Regions from separate parts of the Homo sapiens genome. Here regions 1, 2 and 3 are each linked to region 4. Evidence: promoter capture Hi-C in 16 types of primary human blood cells and fetal thymus (Javierre and others, 2016). All regions are on one chromosome and are shown on one strand. The core of a region is centred on a gene start or on the middle of the fragment in contact, and the rest is flanking DNA. Distances in the headings are between cores, read along the strand shown. Region 1 overlaps MBNL1 (muscleblind like splicing regulator 1). Region 2 has its middle 240 kb from the start of MBNL1-AS1. Region 3 has its middle 220 kb from the start of MBNL1-AS1. Region 4 holds the start of P2RY1 (purinergic receptor P2Y1).

What was found. The method cuts DNA at HindIII sites, captures the fragments that hold promoters and counts their contacts. A CHiCAGO score of 5 or more calls a contact.
Region 1: a contact is called between a fragment that was not itself captured here and the fragment with the promoter of P2RY1 in region 4, in 1 of 17 cell types (megakaryocytes). The highest score is 8.8, in megakaryocytes.
Region 2: a contact is called between a fragment that was not itself captured here and the fragment with the promoter of P2RY1 in region 4, in 1 of 17 cell types (megakaryocytes). The highest score is 6.3, in megakaryocytes.
Region 3: a contact is called between a fragment that was not itself captured here and the fragment with the promoter of P2RY1 in region 4, in 2 of 17 cell types (megakaryocytes and M2 macrophages). The highest score is 6.0, in megakaryocytes.

The regions. Positions count from the first base shown.
Region 1 is chr3:152,464,925-152,470,919 of GRCh38, reverse strand. MBNL1 (muscleblind like splicing regulator 1) reads right to left here. Exons shown (of 10, transcript NM_021038.5): 10 at 5,140-5,995. Among named protein-coding and RNA genes, the nearest start is that of MBNL1-AS1, 200 kb to the right of the region's middle. The HindIII fragment of the contact is 1,721 bases long and covers 2,846-4,566 here.
Region 2 is chr3:152,510,062-152,515,545 of GRCh38, reverse strand. No RefSeq gene overlaps it. Among named protein-coding and RNA genes, the nearest start is that of MBNL1-AS1, 240 kb to the right of the region's middle. The HindIII fragment of the contact is 6,585 bases long and covers 1-4,634 here.
Region 3 is chr3:152,482,231-152,488,239 of GRCh38, reverse strand. No RefSeq gene overlaps it. Among named protein-coding and RNA genes, the nearest start is that of MBNL1-AS1, 220 kb to the right of the region's middle. RefSeq lists a silencer at 3,634-3,839. The HindIII fragment of the contact is 1,398 bases long and covers 3,905-5,302 here.
Region 4 is chr3:152,830,635-152,836,553 of GRCh38, reverse strand. P2RY1 (purinergic receptor P2Y1) reads right to left here and starts at 1,423. Exons shown (of 1, transcript NM_002563.5): 1 at 1-1,423. The coding sequence starts at 771. RefSeq lists silencers at 460-754, 1,467-1,516 and an enhancer at 1,187-1,286. The HindIII fragment of the contact is 2,977 bases long and covers 1-2,726 here.

The DNA.
Region 1 (5,995 bases), core at 2,457-4,956, 370 kb after region 4:
TAAGTCACTTTCCAATAAAGTCTCCTTAAAGTTTTTAAATCTCATTAACTATGAATTTTTAAATTCATGTCTAACTCAGCGATTGTTAATTAGCTGTGAACAAGTGGGAAATTGTAGGAGAATATGGTGGTTTCTCAGACCCCCTTATCAAATGAAGTAACTGTTCGATACACATTTTCATAATGAAGGTTCTCCTGGGAGATGAGATAGCCTAAATAGAGATCAGAGCTTCGAGCCCTATGAAATAATATAAAGGGAACAGGATGAAAGAAAAATACACACAACTAATTAAAGCAAGATAGATATGTTAAAAAGCATTCAACTGTAAGTATATATTCTGTACGAATCAATGTCCACTGCAGTTCTTACAATTTGTTCACAGGTGGATGGCCTATGTTCCTCCTATGCTCTGCTGTTGTTGCTAATTAGCACAGGTGTGAGGTGCCAAGGGAAAGAAACCAAAACATAAATAAAAACAGTTCAGCAGATGGTAAGGAAAGGCATTTGAATGCAAGGCAAGAGATTCATAAGTTCAGAATTAGAAATATTTTAAGGGATGCAGAGAGAACGTAAAGGTATGTTCTCTTTCACCACAGATGCTTTATAAGAAAATGTTCATAACGTATACCACTCATACCAGAATATTCCTTCCCACACATCCTTCTCTCCATAGACAGCGAGTTAGGTAATCACATCTTTGTATTCAAGCGAGGGAAGTTTTAATTAAACACATTCTAAAATACTGTATTTGGTGGTATAGTTTGGGCTTTTGGGGTTTAGGGTCAGTGTGGGCTGGAAAATACCAGTTCACTTTTCCAGACTAATTTTCAAAGAATGGAAGGTATTGAGTCAATCAACCTTTCTAGATACTGTGTCTGCATTGTTTTTACAATCTGAAAAGTAGAGTGTCATAGAATGTTCCTCATCTGCATTTTCCATGAAGGCTAGAAGACAGATTTAATAAATATTAATGTATACAATCAGCCAGTTCCTACTAAATAAAAACTAGATGCTAGGCTCTAGGTGCTTCACAGACATGAGTAAGACTGGTTCCTCCTAGCAAGAATGTACCTGTCTTTGGAACAATTCCAAACTGTAAACAAATTTGAAATATCAGAACAAAATGAGTACTGAAATACAGTTAAAAGCAATACATCATGAAAAAAATAAAGCAAATAATAATGCTTCATAGTGTCAGGAGGGAAAATAATACTTCTTGATGCAGTGGCATTTAATTTGGCAAGAAGGATGAGTCAGTATCCAATAGCAAAGATGGCTGGAGAGTGTATGCCACCGAGGTAATGTTATGCCACCTTTACTTTAACAAGGTCTCTGCTCAAATGTCACCTTCTTCGAGCACACCTTGCTCTCATCTCCCACATTATTATAGTTACCCTGTTAGCAAATCCTCCTAAGGTATTTTGCACACAGTTATCTTTTTTTGATAAAATTATAGTAGATATTAACCAATTCTGGTGACTCAGCATCTTTTAAAGAGTCGGGAAGGTGATGAGATACTCCTAAAACAAAAAGATGATTTAATTGATTAAATTAAATTAAATTGAGAGGCCAAGGTGGATTGCTTGAGCCCAGGAGTTCAAGACCCACCTGGGGAAATAGGAAGACCCCCATCTCTACGAAAAAATTAAAAAATTCTCTGGGTGTAGTGGTGCATGCCTGTAGTCCCAGCTACTTGGGAGGCTGAGCTGGGAGGATTGCTTAAGCCCAGAAGGTTGAGACTGCAATTAGCCATGTTTATGCCACCGCACTCCAGCCTGGACAATAGAGGAAGACCCTGTCTCAAAAAAAAAAGAACAATTTAAAAAAAAGTTAAAAGGAGTTTTATTCATATCCTTTTGCTATTTTTCACTAAAACAACACATATTTTACTAAAACAGCATACATATTTTACTGATTTGGCAAGATGTCTTCTATAATTTCTCAACTAACAGTGATAGGTAAAGTGGAAGTTTTGTAGGACATTTTAAGATTCTGAAGATGACAAACTGACTCAACTAAATAGGGAAATGGTCTAAGAAAAAAGTAAATAATTCAGATTTTAAAAAAAATAAATTTAAAAAACAATGAATATTTACTAAACTAGAAATCTCTGAAAAGCCAATTAAAGTCTCCTATTATCTTACCACTAAAATTACTTTCCTATGTGATTAACTCATTTTTGAAAAAATGCTTTATAAATATATAACACTGTATGATACTTTACTTATTTCCTAAGTATTGAAACATTTCCTAAGTATTGAGACCAGGATTTTGCCATTATAAAAATGCTGCAATGAACATGTTTATTCAAAAATATTTTTTCAATATTCAAGTTAATTTTTAAGGATAAAGTGAGTTAGACAGTAAGTAGGGGAGTTGTATCATTGTATTCCAGAAGAGAATGTAGTTTTTATTTAATTTTATTCTAAATTATTTTGTGGTATAAAGAGATTCGGACTAGTGAGGGAGGAGGGAAATACTAGATGAGTGTCTATACAGATGGAATTACATACTCTACATATTTTGTTTTAGTCATTACACTGTAAGGTTCTTGCCATTGATCCTTGTATCTCAGAGCCTAGCATCCTGTACAGTATATAACCAGATTCTAATATGTTTAAGTTGAAATAGTACTAATTTAAGCATTCAAAATAAACCTATGATGAAACATGTTATGGAAATATACTAGTGTCACTGAAATGTTACTAGAAGTATTATTTTGATAAATACAATAAAAATATTTAAAATACATTATTTAATGGTATCATTTTCATAATGCATTCATTCTATTACTTGATCTTGAACACAGTTAAAATATTTGAAGGGGGATTCAAAGAGTTAAGCTTAGATATGCCTAAATGGTTACTTTCATATTGGGTCTAAATGGGCTAGGTGTTGTCTGTGACCATATCAAATTGAAGTAAGAACTATACAAAATTTTCAGATTGACCATATCAAATTGAAATAAGAATTATACAAAATTTTCAGAGTTAATAAAAATGTACTTGATTCTGTTTTTGAAATAGTATAAATGAAGTAACAGCAGGTCTTGTGGTGGTGGTAAATTACAAGATAGTTTCATTGCTAAACATGAAAGATAAAATTACAGATAATATAAATGAGAGAGTGTGTGTACCTGGCTACTTTGAAAGGGATGTGTAATCGAAGAATCAGGATAAAAAGTTGAAGAATAAGTGGAGTGATTTTTAAAATTGATAAAATAGCAATCATAGTTAACATGTATCAATTACTTGCTATAAACCAAGCAACTTTCTAAGCTCTTTTTATATATTAACCCAGTTCTTTCCTCCATAGTCATTAAACCAGAATGTGTGCAGGTAGGAACCAGTTATCTGGGGGATCTTTTAAAAGTATCGATACTTTTATTGAGTTTTATTTTAAAAGTATCGAAACCCCATCTCTACTAAAAATACAAAAAATTAGCCGGGCGTGGTGGCAGGCGCCTGTAGTCCCAGCTACTCGGGAGGCTGAGGCGGGAGAATGGCGTGAACCTGGGAGGCGGAACTTGGAGTGAGCCAAGATCGCGCCACTGCACTCCAGCCGGGGCCACAGAGCAAGACTGTCTCAAAAAAAAAAAAAAAAAAAAAAAAAAAAAAAATCCCCCCGACAATTCCAGTTTGCAGCAAAGTCTGGAAACCACTCAATAATGGTGCAGTATTTATATTCTCGTACTTATTTTATTAAAGTGGAAACTGAGTCAGAGAAGTAATTTGCCAAGGTCAGGGAGCTGCGACGTGATTCCAGGTGTTCTGATTTTTGAGCCGTTCCTCGACCACTGCAATGTCTCCCCAGTGCTTTAGTGACTACTTCCTGTATGAAAGCATTCATACAGGCATTCAAAAGTATGTCTCAGTGAAATAATAGATTGCTACATCACTGACCTTTAGTATCATTTCAAAGTTTAAATTCCATGAGTACCAAGGGTATGTGATGAAGTAATAGCTCTAGCAAACGATTTTGTTCTCCAAATGAAAAACGAATGACTTCTAACAGAGTCCCATTCTGTGAGCTGAGGACTCCTAGTGGGCGTTGTAATAATAACTCTTCTGAAAATAATTTTTCAGATGCATGTATATGCTGTTGTGATTAACAAAATACAGTTTCATTTAAAGTATTGCAAAAGTTACAAGGACTTTTAGTTATGCATTTTTTCAATGAAAAGATTTCCAAAATATCACTAACTGGAAAGAGCCAGATGTCTTGATATTACTCAAAAAAGGCTGTGAACTCCTGCTTTAGACAATCATCTTCAGGGCAGCCATTCTTTTTGACAAGTGGCACCCAGAACAGTTGGACCTACTGAAAATAACAGAATTGTCCTTTAGAACTCAACCAGTAACAGAACTGTATTGATTATGAATAATGCACCTATTTTTATCACAATAAATTTTAGAAAAAAAGGCATCAACCTACAAATGAGCATTTGTAACTCTTGACCAAATACCAAGTGGCAGTCAGCATAAAGTAGAACTAAATGATACAATGTGCACGTTCTTCATGTTGAAACTTTGGCATTCACTGGCTATCTGTAGAAACTGCAAAGCTTATATGTGATGCCAGGCCCCACTTCAACAAAGTTTTTAACCCACCGTTTAAGACATTCACACACACACACACACACACACCCCTCAGGAGTAATATCATGGCCTGCCTCATAGATCATATGCATAATTTCTTTCATCCCTCTGAATACAGTGCCATCACCTCTCTTGGATTGCCTGATTTCCAGTCCTAATCAGCTGACGCAGCAGTCAGGCAAATAAGATTTCTTTAATAAAAGATAGATAGTGATCTATAATGTATAATAATTTTTTTCTTACCGTTTTTTGCCCTGACACTTAAAACTATTTCAATCAGCGCTTAAAGTGTCAGACAGGGGAAGGCAAGAATTTCAGAAAACATTGGGCACAGGAGGGCAATATATGCTGATTTAGATTCTCCCTCTCAGTGTCAAAGGATAATTAGTGAGAAAGACAACAAATGCCTTCCTCGCAGTTGCAATCAGTTAAAACCAGGTAACAAATTTATACATCAATATGTTTGTAAAGATAGATACATATGCATGAATACATGAAACACGCAAAAATAATTTAGTATTCAATCTCAGATACACGAATATACTTAAGAAAGAGAAGTTTTATTAGGGCAATTTCACTTTATTTTTCCATACAGCAAAGTCAACTACTGCAGTAATAATAAAATAAGCATAAAACAAATTGCAGCCCAAGACAAAATACATAATTTTAAGCAACTACAAGCAGAAAGTAAGTTGTGATTACATAATAGTAAAACCAAGCACATTTGTCCTTTCAGCAGATGAAAGTGGTAGGGTTGCTGATAAGTGCAACATTTTTAACCAGCTGGAGTGAAGGCTGGATACACTAATTCTTTTAAACAAGTGCCCATTATCACATTTTGCATTTTTGAGTGCTTCTGAGTTGAAAATTAAAACCATGAAATTTGAACTGCGTTTTATTTTTCACCTGCTGAAAGAACAGGATCCTACAGCAATTAAAAAACAATCACATAACAACTATAGCTACAGTGTGCTGTTTGGTTTGCCTGTTTATGATTTAAATTTTGTGAAAGTCAATACTTGTTTTGAAGATTTTTTTGTGAACAATAAACCACTGAAATTGGCAGAAACTGATCTGAATAATATATGTTCTTAGTATAGTTCTTTCTCTCTTTTTTTGTTGAAGTTTTAAACATGCAGTAGTTTTGAAAAATGTAAGGAATATCTGATCCATGATTTCACCTTAATGGTAGAAGTACCTGCTATTTTTGGTAATGATCTTCAGGCAGATTTGGCCCCATGGAGTTTTTGTCAGTCATGAGGGTTTGAAAGGATGGCGTATCTTTCCAGCTGAAAAAATCCTGGCAAACTACAAGCTGTCCACAAGAAAGCAAAGCAACATGTTTGAAGGGGTATGGAGTGCTAACTCTGTGCCACTTTTGCAAGCAATTTTGCTCA
Region 2 (5,484 bases), core at 93-2,592, 320 kb after region 4:
AACAGAAATTTGATTTCATTATGTTTAGCAATGCATTCAGCTAAAATACAATATTTCCATCTTAAAGAAAAAGGAAGGCATGTGACTGAGTTTAGGTTAATGATATTTGGGCAAAAGTTGTTGGGTAGGGTTCTAGAAACCTTTCTCTCTGTGTGTGTGTGTGTGTGTGTGTGTGTGTGCGCGTGTGCACGTGTGTGTGTATCCAGCTGGCATTCATCCCTTTGCAGAACCACCTTTCTTTTCTCTTCCTTCTTTGCACTTGTATATGAAAAATAGACTCCGGGCAGCCGTCTTGTGAGCATGAGGTGGTTCTGAGGATGTAAACTTTAACAGAAGTGTTCTGAGAGTTTGATAATATAATATAGCCAAAGTAGTCAATATACTACCAAACTTGAACAGCCTGCTTCTGGACTCCATGGTACATAAGCAAAAAGTTAATGTATTTTTAAGCCACTTATTTTTAGATCTTTCTAACTTCCAACTAAATACTATTTCTTTCTTTCTTTTTCTTTCTTTCTTTCTTTTTTTTTTTATTTTTAAGATGGAGTCTCTCTCTGTTGCTCAGGCTGGAGTGCAATGGCATGATCTTGGCTCACTGCAATCTCCACCTCTGGGTTCAAGCGATTCCATGCCTCAGTCACCCGAGTAGCTGGGACTACAGGCACCCACCACCATAACTAGCTAAATTTTTGTATTTTTGGTAGAGACAGGGTTTCACCATGTTGGCCAGGCTGGTGTCAAACTCTTGAAACTCTTGAACTCAAGGGCCTCAGCCTCCCAAAGTGCTGAGATTACAGGCGTAAGCCAACACACCCAGCCCCTAATACCATTTCTAAATGATGATACAGTTAACATTTATTGAGCATCTACCATGTGCCAGACACCATCCTAAGTAATTTTCAAGTGTTACTTCTAGAAAGATAGTGACATTCTATGCAGGTTAGACATCCTTAGTTTGTGATATTTTTATAGACTCATTTGTCCCATGAAGGATTAATTAACTTTATTCTTTATTTTTTAAGACAGGGTCTTGCTCTGTTGCTCAGTCTGGAGCACAGTGGGGCGGTCACAGCTCACTTCCACCTTGCCCTCCCAGGCTCAAGTGATCCTCTCAACCCAGCCTCTGGAGTAGCTGGGGCTACAGGTGCACACCACCATACCCAGCTAATTTTTTTGTATTTTTTGTAGAGACAGGATTTCACCATGTTGCCCAGGCTGGTCTTGAACCCCTGGGCTCAAGCAATCCACGCACCTCAGCCTCCCAAAGTGCTAGAATTAGAAGCGTGAGCCACTGCACCCAGCCTGATTAACTTTAACTGTATAAATGGTCACACCTTCCCTTCAGCAGAAAATAGATTTTCTAAGAGTTAGATGTATCCTTTCATGCTACAAGGAGTACTTACTCGATTTCTGCTCAAAAAAGTATTAACAACTCTATTTCATTTGACTTTTATGTGCTAGTCTAGTATTCAGTTCACTGTTTGCAACAACATATATCAATTCACAATAACAGGCAGTTAAATATGATTGACTATAGGAAGCACTGTTCTGATGTTCTATAGCTTTCCTATAAATATTTATTTGTGGTAATTCTGCTCCATTTCTCCATACAGTTCTAAAAATTTCTTTAAAATTATATTATTAAACTTAAAATACTCAGACATGGAATTCCTACTGGAATTGCAGACATAAGGAACTAACATTTCTAGTTCCTTCCAATAAATCTGTGACAGCACTTCAAAATATAACAGCTCATTGAAATTGGCTCCCAGGAAGAAAAGTTGATAATCAGCTAGAAGAATGAAGCCTTTGGCATGCTTGTCAATCATATCTAATCATATCTAATGTTGTATCGTGTGAAAGAAGGTAATCAATTCTGAATGGTATCTCTTAAGAAAAGCAGCTTTTATTATAATCAGGCTTTTTCTTAAATTTAACTTTTGAAAAAAATCTCAATTCCTCTTTTCTGAAATACCAAGAAGGCCCCTTTTGAATTATTTTGCCTTGTCTAACAGTTCATGCTATGGTTCATCTTTTTTGAGATCTAAAATTAAAATTGAGGGGTTTTTTTGGTTTTTGTTTGGTTTAGTTTTTTTAGTCCACAAAATGGAGCTATTAATAATTATTGTCACCTAACAACCTTCACCAAATCAGTCTTGATGTCGTCACCTTCACTCAGGACTGCCTTTCTATTTTATTTTATTTTATTTTATTTTATTTTATTTTATTTTATTTTATTTTATTTTATTTTATTATTATTTTTTGAGACTGAATCTAGCTCTGTCACCCAGGCTGGAGTGCAATGGCATGATCTTGGCTCACTGCAACCTCTGCCTCCCAGATTGAAGCAATTCTCCTGCCTCAACCTCCTGAGTAGCTGGGATTACAGGTGCCCGCCCCCACGCCCAGCTAATTTTTTTGTATTTTTAGTAGAGACGGGGTTTCACTGTGTTGGCCAGGCTGGTACCTTTCTATTTTATAGCAGTAACAAAAGTATCCTGAGCAAAGTTGGAATTCCAGAGGAAGCTGTAGACATATATTCTAAAATATATATCCCTTTTTTTCACTCTACCATGACATGTTTTTAAAGACAATCTTTTCTTCAGTTAGTTATTCATTGTGTATGATAAAGGGAAAATAATTCTGATTTACTTATGGGTTTTCTCCTTTGCATTTCTTCCTCTTTAAACTGTGAGAATTCTTGTTTGGTTTGTTTGTTTTCTGAAAACAGGGTCTCACCCTGTCACCCAAGCTGGAGTGCAGTGGTGCAGTCATGGATTATTGCAGCCTCAACCTCCTTGGCTCAAGGGATCCTCCCACCTTAGCCTCCCTAGTAGCTGAGACAACAGGCACATGCCACCATACCAGGATATATATATATATATAAAATGTGTGTGTGTGTATATATATATATAGTAGGGACAGGGTCTCACTATATTGAGCAATCTGGTCTCAAACTCTCAGCCTCAAGTTATCTTCCCACCTCGGCCTCCCAAAGTGTTGGGATTACAGGTTTAAGCTACTACACCCAGCCTGAATGTGAGAATTCTAAAGCAGTACATTGAAAAATCATATATACACAAGGATTTAAGTAATTGGCTTTGTTGTTGTTGATCAAAATTTGTTTGAAAATTCCAGGTTTGTATGAATTAACTACTTTGTAAAAGCGAGAGCTGTTGCTTTTCTGATGCCTATTCACAGGGAGGAAACGTCTGACGGGTGGGAGAAAGCTCCATGGGGTTCAGGGTTGAGTCTTCTTGTTTTTCTGTGCCTTTACACAATGTCTTATCTTGAGCCTGAGACAGAGAATAACTAATTGGTCAAGTTTGCCGAGTCCTTACTCTACACCAGGCACTGTGTTAGGCGTGTGATATGTGTACTTTCACTTCAACTTCACAGTAAACCTAAGAGTTTAGCATGGTCGTTATCCTTATTTCTCAGATGAGGAAATAGAAACTTGATCACAGCTATGGTCACAGTCCTAAATAGTAGAGCCTGAACTCAGTCAGCATTGTTTAACCCCAAGGTCTTTGAACTTAACCTTCAGTTTGCCATCATGAACACTAGTAGACATACAATGCATACTTAATGATCGCATAGTGGAGCTAAAGGCCTGTCATGAACACATCCCTTTAAAAGTCCTCTCCTTTAAAAATAAATCTCTGCTCAGCCCACTGATTACAGTTTTACTGGCCTTATGGAACCATTCTAGGCCACTGAATAGATTAGAATAAAGAAACTTATAAACTTTTCCTATTTTACAATTTAAATAAAAACAAAAAAGAACCTAGCTTATGTAATCACTTGTAAGACCATTTAAGAGATGCATAATATCATAGATCTGCTAAATTATTTTTAATCCGTGTCATATTTTTTTCATTTGGGTTCTTTGCAAAGAAAACCTCAAAAACCCTCTACAATGAACTTTCAGCCAGACAGTTTAAACTTGAAATTTATCTCCAATACACTAAAGATCACCTCAGTCATTAAAACTAAGATTAGAAAAACAATCTTCCATTTTCTTTTCATGAAATATAATTTGAAAACAGAGTACTTCACTTTAAAATAATCTAAATAAAATAACATTGCCTAGTTTCTCTTTTAAGATACAGTTTTACTTTATCAACAAAATGAAAGAAATTGAAGGTTGAAATTCTAAAGGAACAAAATAAATGAGGGTCGGCAACTTCTAGGCAGCTGATAAACAGATGTTTCTGTAGTCAAAGGTATTGTTTTTTGAAAGCAATGAAGTAATGGGGTTTCAGGTATATGTCTTATTTATTGGTCATGTTTTTCTTCCCATGTTTCTAAAACAACTTAAATCAATGTTAGTAAATATATAACGAAAGTTAAGAAAATGCAGTCAGCAGGTTTAAATGTTTTAAGAATTAAAAAAGGAGAAACATTATCTTAAAGTTTGCTGGTTTGTAAGTAGTCAAGTGAACAAACTGAATCCATCAAAAGACCATTTATTCGTATTTTAAAAAATAATACTGAAAGACACAGGAACTTGGGGGAGAGATTTTTAAATGAGAGGATAATCTTAACCATAGAAATGTCAATTTTTTGGAATGAAAAGCAACGTGTTCATAAAGGAAGCATTTGATTGACAGATGATATTCTGAACAAAAGCTTTGAGAGTTTGATCTTAGTGTCTTTTGTGAAATTTTTACATTATAAAAATGATGAATCTAGCATGTTGTTTTGAGGTATATTTGCAATTGAAGTGTTATTTCGTTAATTTTTTTCTGTTTTGTTCAATATAAATTTTGATAAGATGTTGTTTAAGCATGATAGTCTATGGATGAATCATTAATTAAGCTTTAAACAGAATACAGGGCAAATGAAATCTATATTTGCCATGAGACTGATTCTGCCTGGATTAGTGTACATTAGGTAAAATAATTCTAAACAGGATGTAGTCTCATTGAATACTCTAACCAGTGTTCTTGGATAGCTACAATAAATAATGCAAGTAATACCAAATTCAATTAATCACTAGTATTCCTGTTACATTTGTAACTTATAACATTTTATTTATGAATATTCACTTTTGTAGAATATTTTTGGCTTAAGTTGAGTTCCCTGAACAACAGGTTCTGAGATGGAAACTTGAGTGTCAGAGATCTATTAGGGAGTTTTTCTAGGAGCACCTCTAAGGAATAAAGGAAAAGAATTAAGTAGAATAATAAAACTGTGATGTACTTGTAAAAGAGTGTTCTTAAGTCAAGGCAAAGGGTCCAAGCCTTATTACCCTTCCCACACTGACCAGTCATTGGATGTAAACTACACCCAGAGGAAGGGATATACAAGGCAGCCTCTACAGAAGGAAGAGCAATTCTCCAAATAAGATGCAACTGTGAGCTCTAATCACTCAATACCCTCGGTAACTAAGTGCCTTCATCCTGAAGGTGGTGGGGTACACTGTAGTATCCACTATAATTTACAAACTCAAAGAAAAATCTTCCAATGTACTATTGGGAT
Region 3 (6,009 bases), core at 3,354-5,853, 350 kb after region 4:
CTCCCTATAAATTCAACCTAAATCTAAAATCTAACTGTGCATATATACTGAAATGTACTTACATGCTTATGTAACACAAGGGAATGAACCTATATCCAAAATTTGTTTGAATGTTGAGAATGATACACCAAGAGAGTATGAAAATGTTTATTAGCCAGGCGTGGTGTATTATTGCCACGCTGCTAATTAAGACATACCCGAGACTGGGCAATTTACAAAAGAAAGGTTTAATGGACTAACAGTTACACATGGCTGGGGAGGCCTCACAATCATGGGGGAAGGCAAGGAGGAACAAGTCACATCTTATGTGAATGGTGGCAGGCAAAGAGAGAGAGCTTGTGCAGGAAACACCCCCTTATACAACTATCAGATCTCGTGAGACTTATTCACTATCATGAGAACAGCAAGGGAAAGACCAGCCCCCGTGATTCAATTACCTTTCACCGGCTCCCTCCCACAACATGTGGGAATTCAAGATGAGATTGGCATGGGGATACAGCCAAACCATATCATGTGGTGTCTCACACCTGTGAACCCAGCACTTTGGGAGGCCAAGGCAGGTGGATCACTTGAGGCCAGGAGTTTGAGACCAGCCAGGCCAATATGGCAAAACCCCATCTCTACTAAAAATACAAAAATTAGCCGAGGATGGTGGTGTACTCCTGTAGTCCCAGCTACTCAGGTGGCTGAGGCATGAGAATCGCTTGAACTGGGAGGCGGAGGTTGCAGTGAGCTGAGATCGCACCACTGCACTCCAGCCTTGGGTGACAGAGGGAGACTGTCTCAAAAAAAAAAATAATTAATTAATTAATTAAAAGAAAAGGTTTACTACTCAAATAATGAGGCTTTTTGAGGAAGATAGATTCCAAGCAAATCCAAAAGTAGTTTGACAGAGGAGGGAAAAAAGACTAGCATGGGGTTTTTATGTAATCAGAGAGGAAGACTGAGGTGAGGATTCCTGTATGCGGCTTGAACTTCCTGCAGGTGCCAAAGGAGAAAGTATTAGGCTTTCTAATCAGGTTGCCCACATATGGGAAAAAAGAGGAAAAGGAAGAGGAGAAGCTTAAAAGTTGTTAGCAGACAAACATTAAGAAATGGAGTCATAACCTTATTGTAATACTATACTTGCACAAACATAGTAAACATTGGAATATACCTACCCACACATGCTGCCTCCTATACTGTGTAGACCCATTAGATTTCTATGTATTGCAGGGACCTAGGTTCCTGTGATCGCCCTAGGTTCATAATTCCTGCTCTCTTGTGATTCTCACTTGAACCTCCTCTCCCAAGACCGTTTGTGTCTTTGCACTTGATTTGATCAAAATGCAGAATTCTCTCCTTCTTCATGGCTGAAACAACGACTGGAACATAAATGTCCTACTTACACAAGACATTTGCATTTGCAGCATACTATTCTAAAATAGATAATTCAGAGAAATAGAGCAATAAGGAGATTATTACTTCTATTGATAAAAATGTGCCATGCCTCCTAGTAGGCAGAAGTTACTACATACATTTGCACTTTAAATAACAAGTAATTTTTTTCCTCTATGACATGAACAAAATCATTTGTCTCCCTTTGATTACATGAGATTATAAATATAAATAATTTAGTAAGCACACACACAAAGAAGTACCTGCAGACAAATGCTGACACATGGTTTGCTGATCTTGTTGGCTTCCTTACTGCCAAATGATGTAACTTCACACGATCTTGACTCAGGAGACTCAGAAATGCTGTTAGTCCCCCTGAAAAGTGAACTGAAGATCATAAAAGATTTCTGTCAATTAAATTTTATCATTCATATAAAACTCATAAAGTGGAGTTCTCACAGAAAGTATTCAGATTTTTTTCTTTTCCTCTAGGCTTTTTTCACTCACAATATACTTCAGAATAAAAGCATGACCATTTCTGTTTGTTCCAGTGAGATATATATTTATATTTTTTTCTGCTAAGATATATATTTACATCTAATTTTTCCTAATGAAATGTAGTACTGAGAGGTAAATTACTTTAGCTATAATACTTGGCATCATGAATAAATTTATTTGTAAGCATTAAGCCTCTGATCCTCACTTGTAATGGTTTCATAGCTGAGCATTTACCAAGAGTGATAGGTTTGGAAGTTAGGTACTGTGCTGCTTCCTTCCGTAATCCAACTCCAAACAAGATTCTCACTGAAGAGGACAATCTAATAAATTCACTTGCTTGAGCTTTGTCTTAAATTATAAATAATTTGGATAATTCAAATATAAATTTCAAGGTGACTCCACCCTCAGATTCGAGGAGATATGGTTTTAGAAACAGCTCATCAGCCTCTCAGAGAATCCAAGTGAGTATTTTTCATAACGAAGGAGCTTAATAGGAACTAAAAAATTTTCAAGATTAAGATGAATCTGCCCTATTCAAATTTACTACAATAGTAGGTGGTGATTTAATAGGAAAAGAGTTATAAAGATCAGTTTTGGACTCATTAAATATAAAAGACAAAAAATATTACCTTGAATATAAAATATTATATATTTATGATAATATTTTTCTTCTTTATCACTCTTTATAAGTAATTTTTCAATTGATATGACTAAAATGACTAGAATTGGTTTCTTGTAAAATGTGCTCAGGGATACAAATGAATCAATGCGTCTTTATAATTAAACATTTCATTTACTTTCCTTAGAAGAAGAGAAATTAATACCAAAATAGATATGCCCTGATTTTATATATTATATAATATTATATAATATATAAAATCAGGGCATATCTATTATATATATATAATCAGGGTATATCTATTATATATATAAAATCAGGGTATACCTATCTTGGTATTAATTTATATTATTTGGTATTAATATATTTGGTACTTTTATATATATATTATATATATATATATCCTTTAACCCAAATTAATGCTTAATGACTAATCCAGCTGCATAATCTCTTCAAATGTTTATATGGCTTTAAGCCATTGTGATCAAATTTATATAAAAATAAAACAGATCAGTTATAAATCAGGTGAACCACAATTTAAAATTGATCAAGACCAATGATATTTGCCTTGAGAATTCAAGATATTCTTAAGAACTCTAGAGTCAGAAATACCTATTTTGAAGTATTGCTTAATTATTATTGGTGTATTTAGCAAGGTACTTGTTCTCTCTGTTCCTGAGTTTTTTCGTTTCCCTCATAGAGATAAAAATACCTATCTCAGTAAGTTAGTTGTGAGAATTAAAAAAAATGATTTCCATGTTGCAGTGGGGTTTTCTCTACTCCATGTCCAGGCAGATCTCCAGGCATTCTGAGCACCAGCTCAGCTAGACCAGCAGACTGAGCCACCCCATCTTTACTGTGCAGAGTTCCTAGTGCAGTGGGGTCCTCTCTGCTACATGCTCAAGGAGATTTCCAGGTATTCAGAGCACCTGCTTGCCTAGTTCAGCAGCCTGAGTTACCCCAGCCCTCCTGTCCAGAGATCTTGGTGCAGGGGTCTTCTCTCTGCTGCATGCTCAGGCAGATCTCCAGGCATATGGAGGACTCACTCTTCTGGATTGGTAGTTTACGGCATCCCTGACCTCTCTGTGCAGAGAACTTAGAGCCAAGGTGGTTTCCTAGCTCCGCATCTAGGCACGCCTCTAGGCACTTGGTGGCTTCTCATGGGATTCTCCCTTGGCACTTGTGTCTATGCCTGACATTGGACGATCTGTACATGGACCTTCCCAGTCCAGGTCTGCCCCTTGTACCCCCCTCCCCAGGGCTGAGTAGGGAGATTAGACAACCATACATTTCACAAATCATCTTATTGCCTGAAGCAACAGAGAGTTTCTGCCACTAAACAAGGATCAAGTATTTACACAGCCAAACTGGCCAGCACCAGCTCTTACCTGTAAGTGCCATCTGCAAGCTTGTAGATTGTACTCCACAATGCAATATAAAACCTGCTAAAAGAAGTGTATAGGGCTATGGAAGCAAAGCTATAATACCCTACCCAGCTTTCTCTACAGTCACAACCCCTAGGGATGGGGAAAAAGGGAAAAGGAAAGATAAAAATAATATAATAATAACATTATAGAGGAAGAACAAAAAAGAAAAAATCTTACCCACACAAAAACAATTACAAAAATTAGAAGTACCAGCATCTCCAGATGGGAAAGAAAGAGCATAAGAATTCTGGCACCATGAAGAATAAGAATGTGGTGACACGATCAAAGGATTGCTCTAGCTCTCTAGCAATGGTTCCTAACCAAAATGGAAACTCAGAAATGACAGATAAAGAATTCAAAGCATAGATTGCAAGGAAGCTCAATGACATTCAAGATCAGGTTGAAAATTAATACAAAGAAACTTCTAAAGCAATCCAGGAAATGAAGGAAGGAATAAACATCTTTAAAAAAATGAATCAGAACTTCTGGAATTAAAAAACTCAGTTAAGGCCAGGAGTGGTGGCTCATGCCTGTAATCCCAGCACTTTGGAAGGCCGAGGCAGGTGGATCACGAGGTCAGGAGATCAAGACCGTCCTGGCTAACACAGTGAAACCCTGTCTCTACTAAAAATACAAAAAAATTAGTTGGGCATGGTGGCGGGCATCTGTAGTCCCAGCTACTCGGGAGGCTGAGGCAGGAGAATGGCGTGAACCCGGGAGGCAGAGCTTGCAGTGAGCCGAGATCGCACCACTGCACTCCAGCCTGGGCAAAAAAGCGAGACTCTATCTCAAAAAAAAAAAAAAAACCCTCACTTAAGGAATTTCAAAATACCATCGACAGCCTTATCAACAGATTACACCAAGCAGAAGAAAATTTCAGAGTTAGAACATCAATCTTTTGAACTAAGTCAGACAAAAATCAAAAATAAAGAAAAAAGATTTTTAAGAAAAAAAGTCTTCAAGAATTATGGGATTACATAAAGCAACCAAATCTGTGAGTTATTGGCATTTCTGAGAGAGGAGAAAAAGTAAACAACCTGGAAAATATATTTGAAGGAATAATTCAAGAAAACTTCTTTAATCTTGCTAGAGAGGTAGATATTTAGATACAAGAAATCTAGGGAACATCTGTGAGATATCATACAAAATAATCAACACCAAGGCATATAGTCACTAGATTGTCCAAGGTAAGTGCTAAAGAAAAAAAAATTTAAAGGCAGCTAGAAAAAAAGGGCAGATTATGTACAAAAGGAACCTCATCAAGTTAAGAGCACATTTCTTAGCAGAAACCTTGCAAGCCAAGAGAGATCAGGGGCCTATTTTCAGCATTCTTAAAATAAATTTCAACAAAGAATTTCATTTTATCACACCAAACTAAGCTTCATAAGTGAAGGAGAAATAAAATATTTGCCAGACAAGCAAGTGCTAAGGGAATTTGTTACCACTAGACCAGACTTACAAGAGATCCTTAAGGAAACTCTAAACATGGAAACAAAAGATCAATACCTGCTACCACAAAAACACTTAAGTACATAGCCCACTGACTCTATAAAGCAACTACCTAATAGAAAGTACAAAGCAACCAGCTAAGAACTTCATGATAGGATCAAAACCTCACATATCAATATTAACCTTGAATATAAATGGCCCAAATGCTTCACTTAGAAGGCACAGAGTGGCAAGTTGGATAAAAAAATGCAATCCATCTATCTGCTGTCTTCAAGAGACCCATCTCACACATAATGACACCCACTGGCTCTAAGGGTTAGAGAAAGATCTACCATGCAAACAGTAAACAAAAAAGAACAATGGTTGCTATTCTTATGTCAGATACAAGAGACTTTAAATCAAAAACAGTGAAAAAAAAAAGACAAAAAATAGCATTACATAATGATAAAGGGCTCAATTCAGCAAGAAGACTTAATTATACTAAATACCTATGCACCCAACATTTGGGAAACCAGATTCATAAAACAAGTACTTCTAGACCTATGAAAAGACTTAGCCACATAACAACAGTTAGGGACTTCAACACCCCACTGAAAGTATTAGACAGATCATTAAGGCAGAAAACTAACAAAGAAATTT
Region 4 (5,919 bases), core at 174-2,673:
TTTTCTCCTCAGAGGAGAGTTGTCCAGATCTTTGTAAATCAAAGCTCTCACAATTAATCCGTAACAGCCCAGAATCAGCACCAAGGGGACACAGAACATGGCCACGGTCGTGCACATGCTGTAGATGAAATAACTTCGCAGGTACTCGTCTGAGGTGGTGTCGTAACAGGTGATGGTTTTGTTTTTGCGGACCCCGGTACCTGAGTAGAAGAGGATGGGGGAGATCGCCACCACCACAATGAGCCACACCAGCACGCTGATACAGATCGCATTCTTCTTTTTGAGCCGGCCCAGGGACTTGAGGGGGTACACCACACCGCTGTACCGGTGGGCACTGATGCATGTCAGAAACAAGATGCTGCCATAGAGGTTCACATGAAAGATGAACCTCTGCAGTTTACACATGGCATCCCCGAAGATCCAGTCTGTTTTATTGAAGTAGTAGAAGATCAGGGCTGGCAGAGTCAGCACGTACAAGAAGTCGGCCAGAGCCAAATTGAACATGTACACGGAGATGCCGCTCCAGGGCTTCATGTGGAAGACGAACATCCAGATGGCCACGCTGTTGCCCAGGAAGCCGATGATGAATACCAAGATGTAGACAGCCGGCAGGTAGTAAAACTGGAAGCCCGTCTTGGTCAAGGCGCATTTGAACGACGAGGAGACGGCGGCAGTGGAGGCGACCGTGCTGTTCCCCCAGGACGAACCCGGACCGGCCAGGAAGGCAGCGTCCGTCCCGTTGGGGACAGCCGGCCACAGCACCTCGGTCATTCTCTCCTCCTCGACTTAGGCGGCGGCTCCGAGGGGTAGGAGGCGGCGAGAGGGCAGCGGCGGCCAGGGGCGCAGCAAGCATCGGAAAAGCCAGCGAGCGGAAGGGAGCAGGCGAACTGGATCCCCGCGGGAGGGGGCGCGCAGGGGCTCGCCCACGCCAGCTCTGGCCCCGCGTTCGCCGCGGGCCATGAAATCCGCCCCGGGCCGCCACCGAACTGGGCTATCGGGCAAGCCAGCAACTTCTCCGTCCGCTGGCAACGCCGAGCTTACACAACAGGGCGCGCAGGGAACCGCCGCGGATAACTTTCCGACTGCGCTTTCCCGAGGGGCCGCGGGTCCGCGCTGCAGAGCGCGCCAGAGGCGCAGCGAGGTCAAGGGAAACTCGCTCTGCAGGGCTCTAGCTTGGGGAGGCTGCTCCCCAGCCTCCTTGGCTCAAAGATCAACTTAATTGGGGGCATCTTCCTCCTCCCTACCTTAGAAACGTGCAGCTCAGTTTCGGGGCGTCTAACCGCTTCCTCCGCCCACCCTGAGCTCAGCTCCTGGCAGCCATCGGAGCGCGCGTGGCCGCAGACTCGTGCGCTTCTGCAGCGCGTCCCGTTCGGCGTCCGCGTAGTTCAGGAACCCCTTCCCCAGGCCCAGCTCTGTCCGGAGTGCCGGGGTTAGGCGGGAGAGCGGAGCTCCCTAGAGGGTGGGCGGAGTTTGGGCACCGGGGCGAGTCCGCACTCCGCGGGGAGGCGAGGGGCGTGCCTCCGCCGAGCTCGCCCAGCAGCCAGCCCGCGTCCTCCAGGGCGCAGTGGGAAGCAGGAGGCGTCTTCTGGGGAGCAGGTCTCCGCCGAGGCCGAGTGTGTTCAGCCTCTGCCGGCACGCTGCTACCGGAGTCGGCGGCGAGGGAGAGGGGTGCGCTCCAAGGTGGCTGCTGGCAGGCGATTGGCCCGCGAGCGCTCCTTCCCTCTTCCGCCAGCTATCTCGGCAAAGTGAAGTTGCTGACACACAGGAAACCCTTCCGACCGCTTAGAGCCTTCTGCCTACAACCCCAGAGCCGACCAGTCCGTAGCAGGAGCCTCTAGGGCCCTCGAGAACCACGCCAGGTGTTTTCAAGCTCCAAGCAGCCAGGAGTCCCTAGCTGGGAACGCCTGTCATTGCAGAGCGTCTAGCTTTGCCGGGACCGGATTTCTGGCACATGCAGGAACCTGCTATTCCAAGAGGGCGCGAGCCTCCAAAGGAATGAGGGTTGGGAGAGGAGTGGAGAACTCTGTTTCGCCCTTCTTACCTTTTTTTTTCTTTTTTTTAAATTCTAGTACTGTTTTTTCTTAATTACCCAAATGCTAATAAACCCACGTCATTAATAACATCAACGTGAGAATTTCCAAAATAGTCTTGTGAAGATATTACTAGTCCATATTGCACATTGCTTCAGCTCAAATTTGTCGTCATAGATACTTAACACCTATCAGACAAGACAAGCTCCCCAAATCCTCCTGTTCAGTACATTTAAAGATCAGAAGCTACAATGAAAAAAAAAAATTCGAAATTTATCCCTTTGAAAGTAATTTGAATGCCAAATGCAATACATTTATATTGATAGACGTAAAAGACGGTTATAATTCCAAAGTGACTAAGGTATGGTTTTGGTAGGGGGTGGCGGGGGGAGGGGGGTATTTCCAATTCTATTTCTTTAAGTTAAAGTGATTAGTTACAATTACCTCTAGTATCTTAAAAATACAGACTTGGGACTTCCTTAATTACTACATTTACTGACAAACTCGTTTTCTTGCCTTGAATGTAAATTTTAAGCAATGCACTTCAAAAATGTATTTGAGCAAGTTTAATTGGAAACTAAATGAAATATTAGCTGTTCAGGAACATATATAAATGGACCCGCACAAGAATGGAATCTAGCACTTCTTGACAAGTTACTAGTTAATGTATTTTTACATGACACATTAACAAAAGCTTTTCTCTTAGAGGAAAAAAAATCCAAAAAGAAAATATCTGTAAAATATATAACATCAAGATTTCTTTCTGGTCCCAGATGCTACATGATAGTGTTCCCTTAAAAAATAAAGGAAAACCACGAGCTCCTGGCTTTGATACCACAAAGGAAAATATCCCCCACAAGATCCAGATGGTTCTTTAGAGGAACACATATAGGAAGGAGCATATCTTAGCACATGGTATGAATACACTGGGTTTTGAATTGTAGTCAATTGAACAGCATAAAAATTAATAATAAAACAAGAGTAAATAATTCAAGTAAACAGTGTGAATGAGGTTGTCTTGAAAAGTCTTACTTTTTGTGTTTCCTTCCAATCTCCTGATTATATGAGTCTATGATTCTGAGCCTTAACATGAAACATTTGTGTATTGTTTGATTAGTATGGTCCTAGGTGGGATGATTGTCTATTAAGAGAGAAAAGGAAGCAAAGAAAACCATTAAGGGTTCCAGGGGTACTCAATAGGTCTTAAGTCCTCACTCCTTTGCATTTTTTATTTGCAACCTAGGCAATATCTGACTTCACTCAGAAGTTTGTTGCAAATGCATTAACTCATAATGTGAGTGTTTTGAAATGTACACTTAGTCCAGATACCATTAAGTACTTGCAGAAAACTGACACCTTACTAGGAATTGGGGGATAGTTGTTTTAAGTGCACCACAGACTTTTTAAAAAATGATGTTAAAAAATAAATTTTGGGCTGGGCGCTGTGGCTCACGCCTGTAATCCCAACACTTTAGGAGGCCGAGGTGGGCAGATCACGAGGTCAGGAGATGGAGACCATCCTGGCTAACACGGTGAAACCCCCTCTGTACTAAAAATACAAAAAATTAGCCGGGTGTGGTGGCGGGCACCTGTAGTCCCAGCTACTCGGGAGGCTGAGGCAGAAGAATGGTGTGAACACAGAAGGCGGAGCTTGCAGTGAGCTGAGATCGAGCCACTGCACTCCAGCCTGGGCGACAGAGTGAGACTCCGTCTCAAAATAAATAAATAAATAAATAAATAAATAAACAAACTTTGTAAGCATTGCTTTTGCATTCAACATATTTAACTACACAGTTATGTTTCAGTTATGCTTTAAATCAAAATTTTGCCTTGTGGGAATAAGTTACATATATTCAGTAATTACTATAACTTTCTATTTGTAAAACATTCAACTATTATTAATGAAGAAAAAATCTAAGAATCATTATTCACATTTGAACATCAATTATAGATGGCTTAAAGACATGATAAAAAATTCTTACATATTTAAGTGACATCCCTAAGCATTCCATGTTAATTTTTTTTTTTTTTTTTTTGAGACGGGGTCTCACTCTGTCGCCCAGGCTGGAGTGCAGTGGCGCAATCTCGGCTCACTGCAAGCTCCACATCCCGAGTTCATGCCATTCTCCTGCCTGGCGTGGGACTACAGGCGCCCGCCATCATGCCCGACTAATTTTTTTGTATTTTCAGTAGAGACGGGGTTTTCACAGTGTTAGTTAGCCAGGATGGTCTTGATCTCCTGACCTCATGATCCGCCCGCCTCAGCCTCCCAAAGTCCTGGGATTACAGGCATGCATGAGCCACCGCGCCCGGCCTGCCATTACTTTTAATGGCAGTCTTGGACTCATAAACAAAAAGGTTGCCCTTCTTATGCCCTTATATTTAAGTAGCAGTGTAAGAACCTGACTTCAAGAGATTTACAATTTAGTTGGAAATGCAAATAATATATATAGCTAACCATAATAGTAAATATAACAATAGCAATAAAAATAGGCCTTTGCTGTACACTCAAGTACTGTGTACATGTAAAAAGGATTATCTCTTTTCACCCTTAAAATATGCATGATGATATTTGGCCATTGTATTCCCATTTTATAAGTGATGAAACTAAGGTACAGGGAGGTTAAGTAATTCACCCATAGTCACACAGTAGATACTGGGATTTAAATGTAGGCTGTTTGTCACTGAAGTCTATGCATTCAGCCACTATCCCATGATGAAAAAAAGCAAATACGGGGCACTGAGAGAAACGTTAACTTTTAGTGGCCAGCACAGATTGCGTTTAGAAAGCGTTACTCCCAGAAGCCTTCCCTCAGGAGAGAAAATTCTAAGCCAGATATTGAAGTTATTGATAGTCAAAGAGTATTTCAGAAGCTTCTAAATATTCCACTTCTCTACATAGGCTTCTTAAAAACAGCCAGCGATTTACCTATAATCTGAGAGAGAAAATCACTGGGACATCAGATCTGTTGAGTTTTAGACTCATAAACAAAAAGGTTGCCCTTATTATGTTTACAAAGATTTTTATCACCATATTTAGAAAATCTCTATTTTCTTTTTCTTTAAGCCACAGAAAATCCAACAATCATTAAGAATGGGAAAATCATTGGAAAAATTCCAATTGAGGGCCACAGGCAGAAAAGGGAAAAAGAAACTTCTCATAAACATAAAATATGAAATCTCCCATCTGAGTAGAGACCAAAAAACCATCAGATTTGACTAAATAAATATCATACCACAAATGCTAAACCTAATTCTGGTAGCAATATGAAGGAAGTTGGGAGCTGATAGGTAAGACAGCTGTTAGGATTTACGGAGGAGAGACGATGAGACCCTGATTTATGAGATAAAGGTTCATCTCATATCCTTTAGAAGGATATCATTAGGATATCCTTCTAAATTGAACTTCTGAGATTCACTTTAGGAAAGGGAGGAGACCCTTTCCTTCCCCAAGAAGAAAATAAGAGAAAGAAATAGGAGAAGTGTAAGGAATTCCCAGCTGATGTCCACCAATGAAGTAGGAGAAGGAGAAGGCTAAGATGGAGCAGAATTGGAAAGAGAGTATACAGAGAAAAAATTAGGATTGTCCTGTGCCAAGGAGGGCCCAGCTGCTCCTATAAATTATACACTTGTCATGGATCCAATCAGTAGGCTTCCTGAAATTTATTTCATTAAGAATCACAGCAGGGGTATAGGACACAGAATATACCCAGCAGGATTGATCTGAAGTTGAGTGAGGAAAAAGGGAGAAGAGAGCAAGAGAGCAAGAAACAGGAGGCCAGCGGGGAGAGGGGAGAGGAAATAATAATAATAATAATAATAATAATAATAATAAAAAGCAGACAGTGAAATGAAGAAGAAGAGGAAGAAGTGGGAGAGGGAGGAGGAA